Regions from separate parts of the Homo sapiens genome. Here all the other regions are linked to region 3. The links are contacts of gene promoters, found by promoter capture Hi-C in blood cells and fetal thymus (Javierre and others, 2016). All regions are on one chromosome and are shown on one strand. Each heading gives the region's core, a stretch centred on a gene start or on the middle of the fragment in contact. The rest is flanking DNA. Distances are from core to core; before and after follow the strand shown. Region 1 overlaps ANK2 (ankyrin 2). Region 2 has its middle 290 kb from the start of MIR8082. Region 3 holds the start of UGT8 (UDP glycosyltransferase 8). Region 4 overlaps ANK2 (ankyrin 2). Region 5 overlaps LOC105377374 (a long non-coding RNA gene). Region 6 overlaps CAMK2D (calcium/calmodulin dependent protein kinase II delta).

Evidence for each region. The method cuts DNA at HindIII sites, captures the fragments that hold promoters and counts their contacts. A CHiCAGO score of 5 or more calls a contact.
Region 1: a fragment that was not itself captured here is called in contact with the fragment with the promoter of UGT8 in region 3 in 1 of 17 cell types (M1 macrophages); the score reaches 7.1 in M1 macrophages.
Region 2: a fragment that was not itself captured here is called in contact with the fragment with the promoter of UGT8 in region 3 in 1 of 17 cell types (total B cells); the score reaches 6.0 in total B cells.
Region 4: a fragment that was not itself captured here is called in contact with the fragment with the promoter of UGT8 in region 3 in 1 of 17 cell types (activated CD4 T cells); the score reaches 5.7 in activated CD4 T cells.
Region 5: a contact is called between a fragment that was not itself captured here and the fragment with the promoter of UGT8 in region 3, in 1 of 17 cell types (naive B cells). The highest score is 5.3, in naive B cells.
Region 6: a fragment that was not itself captured here is called in contact with the fragment with the promoter of UGT8 in region 3 in 1 of 17 cell types (total B cells); the score reaches 5.5 in total B cells.

The regions. Positions count from the first base shown.
Region 1 is chr4:113,196,682-113,199,381 of GRCh38, reverse strand. It overlaps ANK2 (ankyrin 2), which reads right to left. Exons shown (of 46, transcript NM_001148.6): 4 at 273-371. Among named protein-coding and RNA genes, the nearest start is that of MIR8082, 46 kb to the right of the region's middle. The HindIII fragment of the contact is 2,443 bases long and covers 116-2,558 here.
Region 2 is chr4:113,442,953-113,445,652 of GRCh38, reverse strand. No RefSeq gene overlaps it. Among named protein-coding and RNA genes, the nearest start is that of MIR8082, 290 kb to the right of the region's middle. The HindIII fragment of the contact is 1,503 bases long and covers 543-2,045 here.
Region 3 is chr4:114,597,357-114,600,056 of GRCh38, reverse strand. UGT8 (UDP glycosyltransferase 8) reads right to left here and starts at 1,250. Exons shown (of 6, transcript NM_001128174.3): 1 at 1,083-1,250. The HindIII fragment of the contact is 2,701 bases long and covers 153-2,700 here.
Region 4 is chr4:113,353,768-113,356,675 of GRCh38, reverse strand. ANK2 (ankyrin 2) reads right to left here. Exons shown (of 46, transcript NM_001148.6): 38 at 1-2,908. Among named protein-coding and RNA genes, the nearest start is that of MIR8082, 200 kb to the right of the region's middle. RefSeq lists enhancers at 506-725, 73-1,272, 1,702-2,901. The HindIII fragment of the contact is 3,438 bases long and covers 1-2,908 here.
Region 5 is chr4:113,390,253-113,393,141 of GRCh38, reverse strand. LOC105377374 (a long non-coding RNA gene) reads left to right here. Exons shown (of 5, transcript NR_199847.1): 4 at 2,321-2,440. Among named protein-coding and RNA genes, the nearest start is that of MIR8082, 240 kb to the right of the region's middle. The HindIII fragment of the contact is 3,026 bases long and covers 1-2,889 here.
Region 6 is chr4:113,548,998-113,551,717 of GRCh38, reverse strand. The region is part of intron 5 of CAMK2D (calcium/calmodulin dependent protein kinase II delta); the gene reads left to right. Among named protein-coding and RNA genes, the nearest start is that of CAMK2D, 210 kb to the left of the region's middle. The HindIII fragment of the contact is 5,372 bases long and covers 1-2,720 here.

The sequences.
Region 1 (2,700 bases), core at 88-2,587, 1.4 Mb after region 3:
TCTGAAAAAAATCACTTTATATTCTTTTGAAAAATACTTAGAGACAATGATAGACTTACATTTTTCCAGTGTTAAGTTACATTAAAAGGGAGATTATATGTTGAAAAAATAAGCTTCATCATAAAGGTTAATAAAATTATTTGGCTAAAATAAATAACAAAGCACTTATAATAAATTTATCAGTAGAACAGCTAGCTAAACACATTAAATCAATTTCACAAAACTGTTCTAATTTAAATGTATGTACATCAGGGAAAATCTGAATGGAATACCTGAGACTGTGCATTAATATTGGCTCCTTCCTTAACAAGAACTTTGACAACTTCTGCTTGTCCAGCCAAAGATGCAATGTGAAGAGCGGTATTTCCCTTCTGTTTTGGAGAAACAAAATAGAAAATGTTCAAGGTTTCTGAATTTTGCAGAAATCAAAATGTGCAGGCATTTTTCAACTTCACTAATCACTTTAACCGATTAAAATTTGTTATTTATCAAGATAGTAGCCCACTTACGAAGAGATTATTTTTTACCATCAAAAAAAAAAATTGGCCACCTCATATAGTGTCTTCCTTTTCTATTTTCACAATATTGGTTTAGTGTTAACACGGAATGACTGTATTTTCAATGAATCAAAAATTTGTGGGGGGTGTGTGTATGTGTCAATATCTCATGAGATTCATGCAATTTAATTAACAACTAAAGAATCCTATTGCAAAGAAATATTAACTAAAAAAAGGTTTACTGAAACATTGAGTTTCTTTCACCTTGCAAAGAAACCTAGGAATTTTTAGTGGTAGAGAAACGAGCTGCTTATAGTTATGTTTGCAGCTACTGGGGCACTTGAGAATATGTTGGGAATAAGAAAAATAAATTTTACATAAATCATAACAGTACCAATGATTTTCTACCATTTGCTACATCAAAATTTACCAGCCACAACACTAACACCAATGAAAAATAATTTAAACCTTTTGTGAAAATAAAGGCCAAGAGATTAAAAATACCTATGATGTGATTAAAATAAATAACAAAAAGAAAAAAAAACCAGAAACCAGTAGATTCCAAGCCATAAAGTTTGGACTCTAGTTCTCTTTCTGTCTCCAGCTCACTGTGGGAGCATTAGCCACTCACTTAATATTTGGGGGCTTCAGTTTTTTTCTGTTTAAGTGAGATTCTTTTCCAGGAAATTCTACAATTCTATGATTAAAAGTAAGCCTAATTTTTAAAATATCAACAGAGTTTAGAAGAAAAGAAAAACAAAAATAGTAATAAACACTTAAGCAGGCAAAAATAATTGGCTTAATGAATACACTATATTAACATGGGCAACTATACACCATCTCATACCAGTCAGAATGGCTATTACTAAAAAGACAAAAAATAATAGATGGTGGGGTTGTACAGTGGCAGCCTCAAACTCCTAGGCTCCTGTGAGTGCTCCTCTTGCTACAGCCTCCAAAGTAGCTGGGATTACAGATGTGAGCCAGCACACTGGGCTTCAAATAGATATTCTTTAAATATTTGTTTAAAATGTATTTGATGTGCCAGAGAGAAATGCTTATAAAAATGTTTACTCCCTCTTTATGTTCGAAGTAAGAAATTTATTGCATATAGTGAATTCACATGTTTACTTCTGTGGAATTGCCAGTTGTTAGTTTGTTTTGTTTTTTAATTTCTGCTAGAATTGCTGTTTACTATACTACAAGCAGAACCAATGCACATTTTGTCAATTATGCATGAGGCATTGGAAATCCACGTTAACTGGCCATGTTTTTAATTTATTCTTGTACTTTTTTGTTTGTTTGTTTACTCCAGATTAGACTAGTGTCCCATCTAGAGACCAGAGTGCCTGACTTCTCTCTCTACATCTTCCACAGCCATATTATCACATTCAAGGCTTGGTCAGCAGACTTGGCTCTGATTAGCACTGTATTTTTCCAAATAAAATTTTACCTTCCAAAGGCAAAGATTGTTGCCATTCATAATAGTTTTTTAAATGTCTGTTGTTTATGAAATGAATCCTCGACAAGTTCAAATATGTTTTAGCAAAAGCAGCATCAAGGAACAGTTTCTGGTTTGCCAAGCGTCCCGTGCATTTCTTTTAAAATGAGTCCAATTTCCTTACCAAACACATTATGATGATAAAATCTAATATTGCCCTAACAATTCAATCCATGACCCAAAATCTCTTTTCTTATTAGAGTATAAACGATTCTGCATAGTCTCATACCAAACTGAATGTATACATTTAAAATTACTTGTTCTTTTCCATAGAGAAGTTTCCCACATGGGTTTATTTTTAAACAATGAGTTAACCGTAGGAAAACAGGTGCTATTGTCTACAAAGGATTATGTTAATCTCATCCTCTGTGAATCGAAGGGGGAAAGATAAAATTTTATAAACTAGGTTTACAGATTTTTCAGACTGATGTCCCATAAGTCCTTAAATGAAACAATTCACTCTGCAGAGTTTAATGGAGGGGGTTTTAATTTTAATTCTGCAGGTTAAGAATCTTGGTGTTCTAGCCAACCTCTGAAATGTACGAGAGGGAAAAGAAGCTTTAAGTGGGTGAGGTGTGGTGGTTCACGCCTATAATCCCAGCACTTTGGGAGGCTGAGGCAGGAGGATCGCTAGAGCCCAGGAAGGCAACATAGCAAGACCTCATTTATACTAAAAAAATTTTTTTTAATTAGCTGGGCATG
Region 2 (2,700 bases), core at 45-2,544, 1.2 Mb after region 3:
CAGGCACTGTGATAAAGACAATGTTCCCAGAAGGAGAGAGCCCCTTTCCCGGAAGATTTCACTTTGGGATCATATCTAGTTTCTAACTTGGCTCCACTGCCTTCTGAGAGATTCATGCTTTTTAGCCAACAAAACTCCTTCTTGAAACTTATCCAAGTAAACATGCTCTACTTTTGGAACAAGTCACACTTAGCCATGGGAGATTTCACCATCTGATTTATTACTCATTCCCCAAGAGCCATTCTCAGGGTTGAGACATCGAGGCTGGAGAAGCATCTTGGGCCTCGCTCAATGTGATCCGTTCGCTGATGCTATAATGCCACTTGGCAGGAAAGTGTGAAAAGGAAGTGAGGGAAAAAGGGGGTGAGAGTTTCGAAGCTCCAGGTCTCAGCAACATGAAACTTCAAGTATATTTCTCTTTTGGGTTAATCCCATCATTGTGTTTCTCATCCACAAAAAAACTTTGCTGGCTGTCCCATGATCATGAATGTCCTCTCTCATTTTTAGTGTATTTGGTTTCTTTTCTACTTTCCCTTCAAGCTTACCAGAAAAACTATGGAGCACTATATACTTTTAATGATGATTTTATAAGAGAGATTTTGAAATGCTGAGTATCTTTTGTTCATATCATTCTTCATCTGCATACAGAAAAGGGGGTATCCTGTTCTCCCAATTACATAAACACAAAAAATACAAGATCATACTATACATTCCTTTTTGTAACTTGCTTTTTCACTTACCAACATATAATAAACAATAAATTTTATTTCAGAAAATATGCTTCTGTTATGGCTAGTGGCTTCACTGGAATCTGTTTATCTAAATGATACACAATTTATTTAATCACCTATTGTTGAACATGTACATTTTCTTATTTTATGCTACCAACAATAAGCCAATTAAGTAATTCTTGTAGCCAATTTTTTGCACAGACACTTATTTCCTTAGGGAAATTGCCAGAGGCAAAAATACTGAGTCATCCATTCCATTTTAACTTACAAAAACAGTTATGATTTATAGTGCAGAAATTACCAGAAAGATAAAATTACATACCTAAGCTAACTTAGTGGCGAAATTTTATCACAAATCCAGGTTTCTTCATTTCATGTCCAGGGTCCTTTGTACTGTCCAGTCATCTGCAGCTTTTTTAAGCCAGCATGCTTGGCTCTGGCAACAAGTGCAAGGCACCACACAGGAGAGAGATTCCAGAACAATATTGCTATTCATAGCTTTAGTTCTGAGATGCTGTCCTCAACTTGTTCTTTATACCTGATTACATTCTTCCCAGATCTTCCTATACATGGGCCTTGCTATTGAGGCTGTTGTTTTAGTTTTGTTGTTGTTTCTTCATTTTGACCTTTAAGAGCGACACACTCATTTCTTACGTATCTTTTAGGTTTGAAAGTCCTGATAGAGCTACTCAGCCTAAATTATCGGTTTCAGAACTACTGTATAGATCAGAGAGAATGACACAAGAATGCAAAAGGATCCATTTTTCTTTATAACCCCACCTTAGCTGTTATTTTTGTTATATGGGTACTAGCAGAAGAAAAAGAGAAAGAAAGAAAGAAGAAAGAAAGAAAGAAAGAAAGAAAAGAAAGAAAGAAAGAAAGAAAGAAAGAAAGAAAGAAAGAAAGAGAAAGAAAGAGAAAGAAAGGAAGGAGAGAGAGAGAGAAAGAAAAGAAGGAAGGAAGAAGGAAGGAAGAAAGAAAGAAAGAAAGAAAGAAAGAAAAGAAAGAGAAAGAAAAAAGGAAAGAAGGAAAGCGAAAGAGAAAGGAAGAAAGAAGAGAAAGAAAGAGAGAGAAAGAAAGAAAGAAAAGGAAATGCCTCATTTTCAGAAGCCCAGATAAATGGATAGCTTATAGATGCTATCCAGTCTAACAGCTAATTTTGTAAGTGAGAAATCCCAAGAAATGGAATAGCCATTGTCCATTTAAAAACTGGAATGGAAACAGGATGAATTTATGAAACCTAGAGCAGTGTTTCTCAATTTCGTCCCAGGACCACTTTACACTCCTAAATGTAATTCATAACCTCATAAAGCTTCTCTCTGTGTAGGTTATATTTATTGATATTTGCCATTTAAAAAAATGAAAACTAAAAAATTTTCAAACACAAAAATATTCAAGCACATTGTCCATTAGCTCTCAGAGGAATGATGTCACAACACTTTTTTTTTTTTTTAAGACAGGGTCTCACTCTGTGGCCCAGGCTGGAATGCAGTGGCTCAATCATGGCTTTCTGCAACCTTGACCTCCTTGAGCTCAACTGATCCTCTCACCTCAACCTCCTAAGTAGCTGGGACTACAGGCATGCACCACCACCACACCCAGCTAATTTTTATATCTTTTGTAGAGATGGGGTTTTGCCATATTGCCCAGGCTGGTCTTGAACTCCTGGATTCAAGCGATCCACCCACCTTGACCTCTCAAAGTGCTGGGATTACAGGTGTAAGCCACCGTGTCCAGCCTTGCCACACATTATAGAGCCTCTGGAAAACACTGTACACTCGTGAAGGAATAAGAATGAAACAGGAAGTTAAGGTTTTAGTATTATAATGAAAATAGTTTTAACCTCTTGCAATCCTTGAAAATGTCTCAGGGACCCCGGGATGTTCTTGAATCACACTTTAAGAATGTCTGTGGGCCAGGCACGGTGGCTTACCCATGTAATCCCAGCACTTTGAGAAGCCGAGATGGG
Region 3 (2,700 bases), core at 1-2,500:
TCTCTACCTTCTCTCCTCTCCCCGCCTAGATGCTGAAAGGTGATGGGAACTCGCGGTACAGGTACAGAGGCTATTCCTTTCCTAAGGAAGTGCTGCACAATGGCAGGTTTACCGTACTCAATTTTATAAACCCTCAATTAAACCAGAAAGCTTGTATATAGAGATTGGGTACCCCGCCCACCTCCTCAGATTGTCCTTTTGCCCCGACGCACTGCATCTACTTGCACTCTCCGATGCGGTTTGCCTCCTTCAAATCCAAAACACACATACCAGGCTCCCTCGCCGCTCCTCCAGTCCATGGAAGGCGCCCTTCTTTTTGCCAGCAGCGCGTCCTTCTCTCCCCGCCCGCAGGCGCTCACCTCTTCTCTAATCCCGGGGGCCCGCACAGGCTTCTCTAATGCAAGGGCACCCCGTACCATTCCCAAATCGGCGCGGGGACCCGTGAAACCCTGCCACCACTGTACACTGTCCATTGTCGAGAGTCGCGCGGGCACGCGGAAACGGCGGGCCCCGAAAAGTCTCAGCGAGCTTGTACAGCCCCAAGACATTCCCCACCCCCAACACATCCCGCTCTTGTTCCTCCTTAGGGGGAAGACGGAGTAAAGGGGAGTTGAAGAGGTCCCGAAGCTCCTCCTGGTCCCCCACCTCCATCCCTGCCCTGGCAGCTGGCTCTGGCCTCTGGGCTCCGCGGTGCCCATCCCTTCAGGGGTCAAGTACAAGGTCCTCGGCCGAATCGCCTCCCCGTTATACCCTCCCTCTGCCTTGAGCGCACAAACGCGAGAGAACCCTCGAACGGATGCCATATGGCAGAAACAGGATCGCGGGCGCTATGAGGGGCCAGCCTAAAAAGATCTCCTTCACACCCCCTCAACCCCTAGCCTTTCTCCCTACCCCGCCAACCCCCACTAACCACTTCTAACTTCCTCAGCCCAACCCTGTCTGTGCTTTCTAATTCCCACCCCCCCGCCCCTGGACAGCAGCCATTCGCCCGGCACTCACCTCAGGGAGCAAACAACGCCCCTCTCCTCCACCCAGACCGCCCCCCCTTCCGCCCTCTGGAACGGCGTGGTCCCTCCGCTCACCTCGTCTCTTGGCTGCCCCGCGCGAGTTTGAGTGTGTGTCTGCCGCGTAATTGTATCCGGGACAGAAGGGACCTGTGTTTGTGCGCTGAATCAGGTGTCGCCGCCTTCGGTGGTTCGGGGGCGTAAGGGAGGCTTCGGAGTTAGCGTGTTGGCTAAGGAGGGCTCTCTGGGTTCACAGTTGATAGCAATGCTTTAACCGTGTCCTCCCTCGGGTCCTCAGCGCGCCTGCTCGTCCGCAGCTCCCAGCGGGCGGCCAGGCCCCCCGCCCCCCAGCCGCGCCCCGCCCTGCGTGCGGCGAGCAGAGTCGGAGCGCGCCGCTGCCCTTCCGCACTTGGCTCAGCGGGGCACGACACGGGCCGCCACGCGCTCAGCCTAGCATCACTCGCCTCTGACTGCGAGCGCCTCCAGCTCCCCGGGCTGGGGCATGGATGCAGACGCGCCTTCGTACCACGCGCTCGCAGGCTGGGCAAGGGGCAGCGCGTTGGGATCCGGCCAGTCGTCCGCTGAGCGAGGTTGGCTTGCAGGCTGGGACTTTTCGCGAGCCCTCTGGGCGCTCGAGTTGCGAACTCTGACAACGGCACGTGGCCCCGCCCACTCTTCCCTCTTTGCGAGGCGTGTCCCGCGCCCTTTCTGCCACCACCCACGTAGTCCCTGTGCCCGCCTTTTATCATCAAGGCGGCTCAGTGAGCTCTGCGTGTTGATGTCGCGCCTTTTCTCATCTTCCTGCCTTTCCTGCCTCACTTCTGCTGAATCCATTCAAAAGTTATACTTGGGCAAGTGGGTGGAGGAGTTAGGAAAATTAAAAGAGGGATGCTTAGGTGAGCAGGTACCTGCACTGCCGCCAACCCAGGCTTCAATTCTGGCTCTCTTGTAGCGGAAAGCCTTAAAAAACGCGAGTTTGGGGATCCTGAAAAAAAGTAAATAGGGTTGCTGGGCTGAATAACATCCCTCCTCTCAGGCTCCTGCTGAAAGGGCCATTCATGATTTGCCTGGTTGAGCCTGTGGCGACTTTATTCTGACGAATCTGCCTTTGCCAGCAGCATAACCTTGCCAAGTTGGCGTCTTGACCAGCAAGCAACTGTGCCCAAGGAAGCCTCTCTGTGGTGCCTCAGACCTGAGAGGCCGAGTGCCTTTGAGCGCCTGAGGTAGATTGTGAGTTTCATGAAAACCGAGAAAGTCTAAGTGTGCATGTGCGTAAGATATTTTATATATATATATCTCATATATATATGAGATATGTCTATATAACGTGGACTGAATTGTTTATTGTTTATGTTTCGTGTCGAGCATAAATTCCAGAAGCTAAGATGCTTCCATAGCACACAAACGTTATGCGTTTAAACGTTGGAAATCAAAAATGCCATGTCAGGTCATTCTGTCCTTGTTCCAAAGTGAGATTCAGAAATAGGTTGGGATTTTCTGCCCTTAGATAAGAAAACGGAAATTATATTTTACTGTATATGTTATCAGTTAATGATAAATTAAAAAACTAATATACACTGCTGTTATTGTAAAATCCATATGCTCAAGAATGTTCATGGATGGAGAGATCTTCAAATGCCATTTCAAAAAAGAAAATGCACTTTTCTTCTTTGCAGATTAGGAATTTGAACATATT
Region 4 (2,908 bases), core at 1-2,500, 1.2 Mb after region 3:
ACTGGTTCTGGTAAAAGGCCTGAGTCAGCACCTTTTTTAAGCTGTGCCAACTCAGGTTCACTTTCTGAGGAGGAAGACACCTTCCTGCTCTCCGAAGTTACTAACACAGGGACACCACTTTCATCCTCCCCACTGCCTGTATGTTTTGGTTCATCCACATCTACTGAACAGTCAGCATCTGGGTCAGAAGATGAAGAAGATTCTTCTTGTTTGGGTTCTTTTTTGTAGTCCCTTTTCTGCTTTGCTTCTTGTTCAAGTTCATCAAACATTTTGATTTTGGTTACCATTTTAAACATCTCCTCTTCAGGTGTGAACCTCTTTTTCTCCCCGTTTTCTGAATCATCCTCCTCTGCACATTCATGAATCACAGCTGGTTTTGGTGTACTTACATCTGTGGTTTTGGGTGTAACCTCATAGCTGACTTCTTCAGAGCTGGGGGTGTCAGGAGAAAGGGGGCTCTTCCCTGAGCTCTCCATGAGCGATGTCTGCTCAAGACTGTCATCCTCAGCACTGCCATCAGGGTCTCGGAGTAGCCGGGACCGCACAGAGGCCACTTCCGTCAAGAGTTCTGTTTTGGCAACAGCTGCAGGAAGAGGAAAGTGACTTGGAAAAATTCCAGCCTTCATCTTTGGTTCAACAGGGCTGCTTTCCAGAGAGTCACGGCAAGGGGATTCTTTCAGAGGACTTGGCTCCAGAGAATCAGGGGTTTTGTGTGAAGAGTTATCTTCTAGCACAGGGCTGGCTTCCAGAGAGTCTTTGTGGCTCACTGCTAATGAGTCATCAGCCACAGCGCTGAGGACTTCGCTATCTCGGCTAGGGAGTGCAAGTTCTAACCCTTGGGGACTTCTAATGACTCCCTGAGGTTTTGATTCAGTTCCTGTATCTGTCTTTACAGAAGCCTCAGGCAGCGGCAAGGCCTTTGTCTCGTCTGAGGTGGCTGTGGATTCTTGAACCTCACTATCAGTTTGTGTCTTGTGGGCTGAACTACCAAAGGTACGTTGACCTTCATCACAGGCTGCCTCCTCAGTCAGTCCTGTAGGTGTCTCTTTAGCTAATGCTACACTACAGCTGCCTGTGCAATCATCTTGTCTTTTAGGGCTTGTGTCTTTGGGAGAGCCTAGAGTGGCCTCTTTCTGAAAACTCTCAGTAGAGGTCTCTGAGTCCTCAGTGACTGTGGCACCTCGCTCTTCAGAGCCACCAGTAATGTCTTTGGTCGTGGGATGCTCTTTTTCTGAACGAATTTCTGTGGTGGTTTCTGTCTTGGTGCTTTCCTTTGTTTCCCCAGTTTGCTCCTCACTTTTCTTTGGTGAGAAAGAAAGGCTTTCTGGGCTCGTCTCAGGGGTCTCTGCTAGGCCTTCATGCTTATAGCTTTCTTCTGAACTAATCTGAGGGGTCCCCTCCATCAGGCTGCCACACGGAGAGCCGGCTACCCCCTCATTCTTTAGGCTTTCAGAACTGCCATCTAAAGCACCGCTTTGTAAAGACAGAGCTGGAAGGAACTCATCTTTCATGTAGTCGAGTGGAAATGTTGTGTTGAAAGGACTAGTGAGTACTTGGTCTAAGTGAAGCTGTGCCTTTTCTGTCTCCTCACTCAGGCGGAATTGTTGGTATTTGTCATTGTCTTCCAACTCTTGCTTAATGACCTCAGAGAAGTCAGTGGAGGTTTTCCTATCTGGGCTGATCTGTAGATCCATGTCTCCCTGCTCATCAGCCATCTTTTCTTTGGGCACTTCGCTCTCTCTGTGGCTTTCTTCTTCAGGCACTGACTGAACAGGTTCAGGTATTTTGTGGCTGAGAACTTTCTCCTTTCCTCCAGCTGCATCTTCTTTCTTAACTCCTATGGAGGAAACACGAACTCCTCTTTTGGATTCTGCTGTGCCCGTTACCGGGAGTCTCTGGCCTCGTTTGATTGTCTGATTCTCTGTTTTCTGAGCTTCTCTCTGGGTTAGTATCGGCCCCTTTTCTTTTTCTACCCGAACTTTACCTTTCTCTTGTGGCTGCTTTTGTTTTGCTGATTTGTGCTCAAAGAGTCCAGTTTTATGTTTAGAAGGGTCCTGACCTGACTGGAAAGCCTTCATCAGCTCCCGAACAGACATGGTTTCCTCAATCCTCTCTGTTTTTGAAGTGGGGGATACAGGTGGTTGCTTTTCTGTTTTGCCAGAAGGTGACACAGGCAGGTGCTTCTCAGTTTTCCCAGCTGTTGATACAGGTTGGTGCTTGTCCGTTCTTCCGGAGGGTGAAACAGGCAAGCGTTTTTCTGTTCTCCCAGGCGATACTGGCGGGTGTTTTTCTGTCCTCCCGGAGGGCGATACAGGTGGACGTTTGTCTGTTTTGCCTGAAGGCGAAACAGGTGGGTGTCTTTCTGTTTTTGTAGATGACACAGGAGAGTGCCTTTCAGTTTTTGTCGAGGGTGATACAGGTGAGTGTTTCTCAGTTTTACTCGATGATGACGCAGGTGAATGTCTTTCCGTTTTTGCAGAGGGTGACACAGGTGAGTGTTTCTCAGTTTTACTTGATGGTGATACTGGAGGGTGCCTTTCAGTTTTTGCGGAAGAGGAAAGAGTAGAGTGTCTTTCTGTTTTAGGGGAGGGAGACCCTGGCGCATGTCTCTCTGACTTCAGAGAGGGTGACGCAGCTGGATGTGGCCTGTGGGTGGTCTTTTTTGGCACGTCCTCCTTGCCTTTGACTCTGATGGGCAACTTGCTTCGACCTTTCTGTTCATCTTCCACTCGCTTCTGAAGGGCCTTTACTTTGTCCTTTATGGAACCAATGGGAGTTTCTTCTATCAAAGGAGATGTGGCCTTGACAGTGGGAAGGGGTTCAGGGGCTAAACCTGGGTCTTCACCTAATGACTCTTCTGAACTACCTTTTTTAAGTTCAGCTTTCTCTGCACTAGCTTGTAAACCTT
Region 5 (2,889 bases), core at 150-2,649, 1.2 Mb after region 3:
CGAATTAGCAGCCATTTGACCTAACACTATAGTGTCTAGGCTTCATTTGAAATGCTGTATTTATTATGTGCCAAATTTCCATTGATTCCCCATCCTATTTCATTGCTCTCGCTGTCTCTTGCTACTCTAGTACTAAACTGTTTTACAAACAGTGGCTTAAAATATATTTTAATATCCGGTAGGTCTACTGAGTCAGGTGACAACATTCCTTTTTTTCTTACCCATAGAATCTTCTTGATTAATTCACATTCTTGTTTTTTCTTCCTATCAACTCAAATTAAAATCCTATAAGCAATTTTATGGTGATCTTATTAAATTAAGAAATAAATTAAGAAGGAATTGATGTATTTAAATTGTTATATGCCTATATATATATAAGTTAGTGCAAGTCCCTCCATTTATGGAAGTAAAAACTTGAAACATTTTAAAATAGGCTCTTTCTAAATGTATAACTAGGCATTTATTCTCTATTGTAAATGATATATAAAATTCCCTTCATTTTTATTTTTAATTTGGAGGGGTCTGTGTGTGTGTGTGTGTGTGCGTGTGTGTGTGTGTGTGTGTGTGTGTGTTAAGGAAAGTTAGACATATTCTATGATGAGTTGAAAAGAGTGACCAAATGGTTGACAGTAATTTTTCTTTCAGTTGGTTCCTTTTGGCTTTCCTGATTCACAAACATCGTTTGCATATTGACAATGTTTACCTATTCTTTTTTTTATTTTTATACTGTATTTCTTGTTTTTTGTCCATTGTATTGAATTGAGTAATACTTCCTTTTTAATATTATGCCTTTAATACTTTGCCTTTAATGTTATGCCACTAAGGACATAGGGGACTTTATTGTCTTATTCTCAGTTTTAAAGCAGAAATGCTCCCAGTGTTCATCTTCAAACAAGATGAATTTTGGTGTGAGGAGCATGTGTCCCCTTCTTAGTTCCCGTAATTAAATTAAAAAAAAAGTTACAAGATAAAAAGGCATGAAGTAAAAGGTATTCCTGATGAAGCACAAATTCTAGTTAAAATCAAAATCAATTGTGAACTACATCTTAAAAGTAAATTCTTTCTAACTGTATTATGTGACAATAGAATCTTCAATTTGCTTTCTCTTTGTGTTTCTTAATAAATGTATGAGGATTTTGACCTTTTTACAAGAAAGAATTCATAAATACTCCCTAACTGATATCACCTTGTAAGCAGATGAGCTAACAATTTAGATACCAATTTTAAAAGGAATGATAGGCCAGGTGTGTGTCTAACACCTGTAATCTCAGCACTTTGGGAGGCTGAGGCAGGTGGATCACTTGAGTCCAGGAGTTTGAGACCAGCCTGGGTGACACGGTAAAACCCCATCTTTATTAAAAAAAAAACCACAATAAAAATGAATGGTTTAATTGGTGATGCTGAGGGCCAGCACAAGGCAGGCAAGAGGAGAGATGTGGTTGTGTTGGGTGAGAAATCAGAGATAAGGTTTTTTCTGTTGTTGCAAATTATTGCAAAAGCTACGCTAAAATGATTGTAACTTAAGTGCTCTTAACAAAGGATTATTTGATCATTTGTAAAGGAAATGCAATTCATACATACACATACACATACATAATTTGATTGCCTTCAGGAAGAATACATCCCTTCCTACTTTCTTAAAAGGACATGAAATGGATGCTAAATTTCACCAAATGCCTCTTGGCCAACTATGGAAACATTGGTATGTGGTTGTTTCTCCTTTAATCTTCCAATATGAGGAATTTCATTAACAGCTATTACTAATGAACTATTTTTGCTTGGAACGAAACCATTTGTTTATAGTTTGTTTTTAAAATGCATTGTCAATTATATTATATTTTATTTGTAATTTTTGTAAAGAGATTCCTTAGTGAAATTGGTCTAAGAATTTTTGTTGTGTTATTTTGAGGTTCTTTTGATGTAATTTGCCCAGTTTGGGTACCAATGATATACTTGCTGTCTTAAAACAAGATAAACTAGGAATTTTTCTCCTGGGAGTCTCTGGTGGTTTCAGTATTAAAATTATCTGTGTATTGAGAGTTTAAGAGAATCCATCTGTGACAGCACCTAGATCTCATTCTTTCTTGTGGGGTTAAATATTTGCTGACTCAAATTATTTTATGGTTATTGGGGTTTACCTTTATTATCTCTTCTGTGGTAGATTTTATTAATTATCTTTTAAAAATCATCTCTCTTATTGGAGTTTTTATATTTACTTACAAAAAATAAGGTAACATTTTCTTACTATTATCTATTATTTCCTCTCTAATTATCTCCCCCCCCTTTTTTTGTTTTTGTTTGTTTGTTTGTTCTGAGACAGTCTTGCTCTGTCACCCAGGCTGGATGGAGTGCAGTGGTATGATCATAGCTAACTGCAGCCTCAATTTCCTGGGCTCAAGCAATCCTCCTGCCCCAGCCTTCCAGGTAGCTGGGAACACAGGTACGCATCCCCATATTTCATTAATTTTTAAATTTTTTTGTAGAGACGGAATTTCACCACATTGCCCAGGCTGGTCTAGAACTTCTGGGCTCAAGCAGTCCTCCCACTTTGGCCTCCCAGAGTGCTGGGATTACAGGCATGAGCCACAGCACTCAGCCTCCATTCTCTTTTTTATCATTGCATATTTCTACTTTCTCTTTTACCTCTTGATGATGTTACTAGCCATTATCAATATTATTATTTCAAAAGGTAACTCTTAGATATATTTTGCATTTTCACATTTTTATTTCCTACATTAAAACCTTCATAAATTGAAGGTTTCTATTTATCTCAATATATATAATATGTGGCATGTTCTCTTAAGTTTGCCATAGGCCAGCCCCTCTCCTGATTTTCTATGTTCAGACAATTCACATATTATTTTCCTGTCTGGCTACTCTCAGCACAGG
Region 6 (2,720 bases), core at 30-2,529, 1.0 Mb after region 3:
GATTCTAGGTTGCCCAGTGGTAGCCAGTAGTCACATGTGGCTATTGCAATTTCAATTAATTAAAATTAAATTAAATTAAAAATTTATTTCTCAGTTGGTCTAACCATGTAGTTGGTCTAGCCAACTGCCTAGTAGCCACAAGTGTCTAGTAGCTACCAATTGGCCAGACCAGATATAGAACATTTTCATCATCACAGAAAGTTCTACTGAACAATGAATATCTAATCAGAAAACAGAAACAGCCTGAAAAAAGTCTCAGTGGTCTCTTTAAGGAACTATTATTAGCTAATTAACTCTTTGGAAATTTCATTAAAACCCTTGAACCCCTGAGTTGAAATATATTTATTCAGGCATTTAAGAGAGTTCAAGAGTAATTTTTCAATCTTGTTAATTGGCAAAATCTTTACAAAAGTTTAAAAAAGGCTAAGTTTTTTGTCTAATTTGCAACTTCCTAGGCTATCCAAGGCAACACTTTTGGAGTGGAGTAACATTAACCACTTGCTTAGATGTTACTGGATTGCATGGTGTAAATTTTCCTGTGTACTTTTATATATTCTGTAGCTGTCATTTATTTTTAAAAATCTGATCAAGAGTGATTGGCTCATTATTAGCAATGTAAATGAGATGTTTGGGAGCAGAGATTGACTCTGCTCCCATTCTCCAATGCCATCAGAGCTTCCCAAGGCTTGCTAATCCCATTGTAGCCTGACCCTCAACAGATGTCCAGCTGATATTAAGGTTCCCAGCCCCTCCTTGCCCTCAGAGGCACACTTCTAAGTTTCTAATTTTTCTTCTTGGTTTAATGCACTGTTTATGGCACTTTGTGAATCTATCTGTACATGACTACGCTCTAATTTTTTAATGGAATTTTTATGGCCAAAGTCAAATAGAAAATTCTGTGTAATTTATACTATGATGAGTGAATCATCACTTGCTCAGTTTACCCCAAATCCCCACATTAGGGTCCTGAAAGGGGCCATGGGGAACCTCTGGAAGTAGCTATTTGGCCACTTGCCAAGAAACAGTAATACTTTTAATCAAGGTACTAAACTAGGGAATTTCATTAATGTTACCCTTCAAAGTTATGTTAAGCAGGCTGTTACTTGGTTTGAAAAATACTGGTTGAAATTAAAATAGAGACTATTTTTACTGCTAAAGAGCTCTAAGATATTTTTTATGAAAGCTCTCCGATAAAATCAAAGAGAAGGAACATTCCCTTCTAAATACATAAAGAGGCTATTTCTCAGTCAGATGTGGTGGCCCACTCCTATAATCCCAGAACTTTGGGAGGCCAAGGTGGGAGGATTGCTTGAGCCCAGGAGTTCGAGACCAGCCTGGGCAACATGGTGAAACCCTGTCTCTGCTGAAAATACAAAACTTAGCCAGGTGTGGCAGCATGCACCTGTAGTCCCAGATAATCAGGAGGCTGAGGCAGGAGAATCACTTGAACCTGGGAGGTGGAGGCTGCAGAGATCATGCCACTGCACTCCAGCCTGGGCGACAGAGTGAGACCCTGTCTCAAAAGAGGCTATTTGATTGTCAAAAAATTGTAAAAATTTTTTACTAGTTCTCAAAAATTTAAGAATTGAATCCATTCTCACTAGTAAAAAAAATGGTGAAGTCCATTTAGTATGTGTTATTGTTTACTTCTTTATCTTCTGTTATTCCCAAGATTCAATAATTTATGCTTGTTGTTTGAGAACAGGAAGAGAAATATTCTTAAAGAGTAGTGCAAAGTGAACATTATTGTAAAAGAAAAAAGATTCCTATGGTTTAAAAATAATGACCAATACTCAAATAAACAATGTAGTCAACAGCAATGAATGTGAGACGCTTTTAGTGGTATTGTTAATAAAAGAGCTAGAAAATCATAGTCATGATCAATTTTTAAAATATTTACATTGTAATAAATCAGATGGTGATTACTTTTTTAAATTCAAGATTTTTCTTTAGAATAATATTATTTTATACATTAAGTGGTTGAAAATGTCCTTATTAAAATGTTTGCTTCATCTTTCAATGAATAAATGTAGTTCAGGATGTACTTGCATTTGAATTGCACAGTGAACTTATACAAAATTCATCAGTGTGATGTGTTCTGCATTATTATATGTCAGATGACAGTTCACAGGACCTTATAGGTGCCAAACAAGGATTTCTCCTCTCTAATTAGCAGTCCCATTTGATATCAGTGAACCCTTAATAAGAATAGCATAAAATGTGCATTTTGATATAGTATGAAGCAAAAGTTTTTCTTCACTGAAGTGTATGGAAGTGGGTTTAATAATTACCAATGCTCCAGGGGATTGTAAATTTGTATTTATTTATTCTTTGAAAGCTCCCTAGCTCTTCCCCAAAGTATTCTTACACTAAAGAGGGGTTTATTTTATTCATGAGTTTACTTTAAATTCTCCCTTTATTGTTGGAGACTTGCATTTGTTTTCCTGTTATATACTTTACAAAAAGCAACGCTTCTAAGGCGAAATGGTAAATGTGTCCCTCCATTTTTTTTGACCCTTGTTTCACCTGCCACTTCATCTGTGTTTACCCTCTTGTTTCAACACCTGTTTAATTGTGACCTCAGATTTTAAACAGTTTAGATGTGTATAAGAAATACCTGGAAATTTTATATCTCTGAAGAATTTTCCCAGAACATTATGGGAATTCTTTATAAATTTTTCTTTCTAAATATGGAGATTTTACCTTCTTATACATATTAT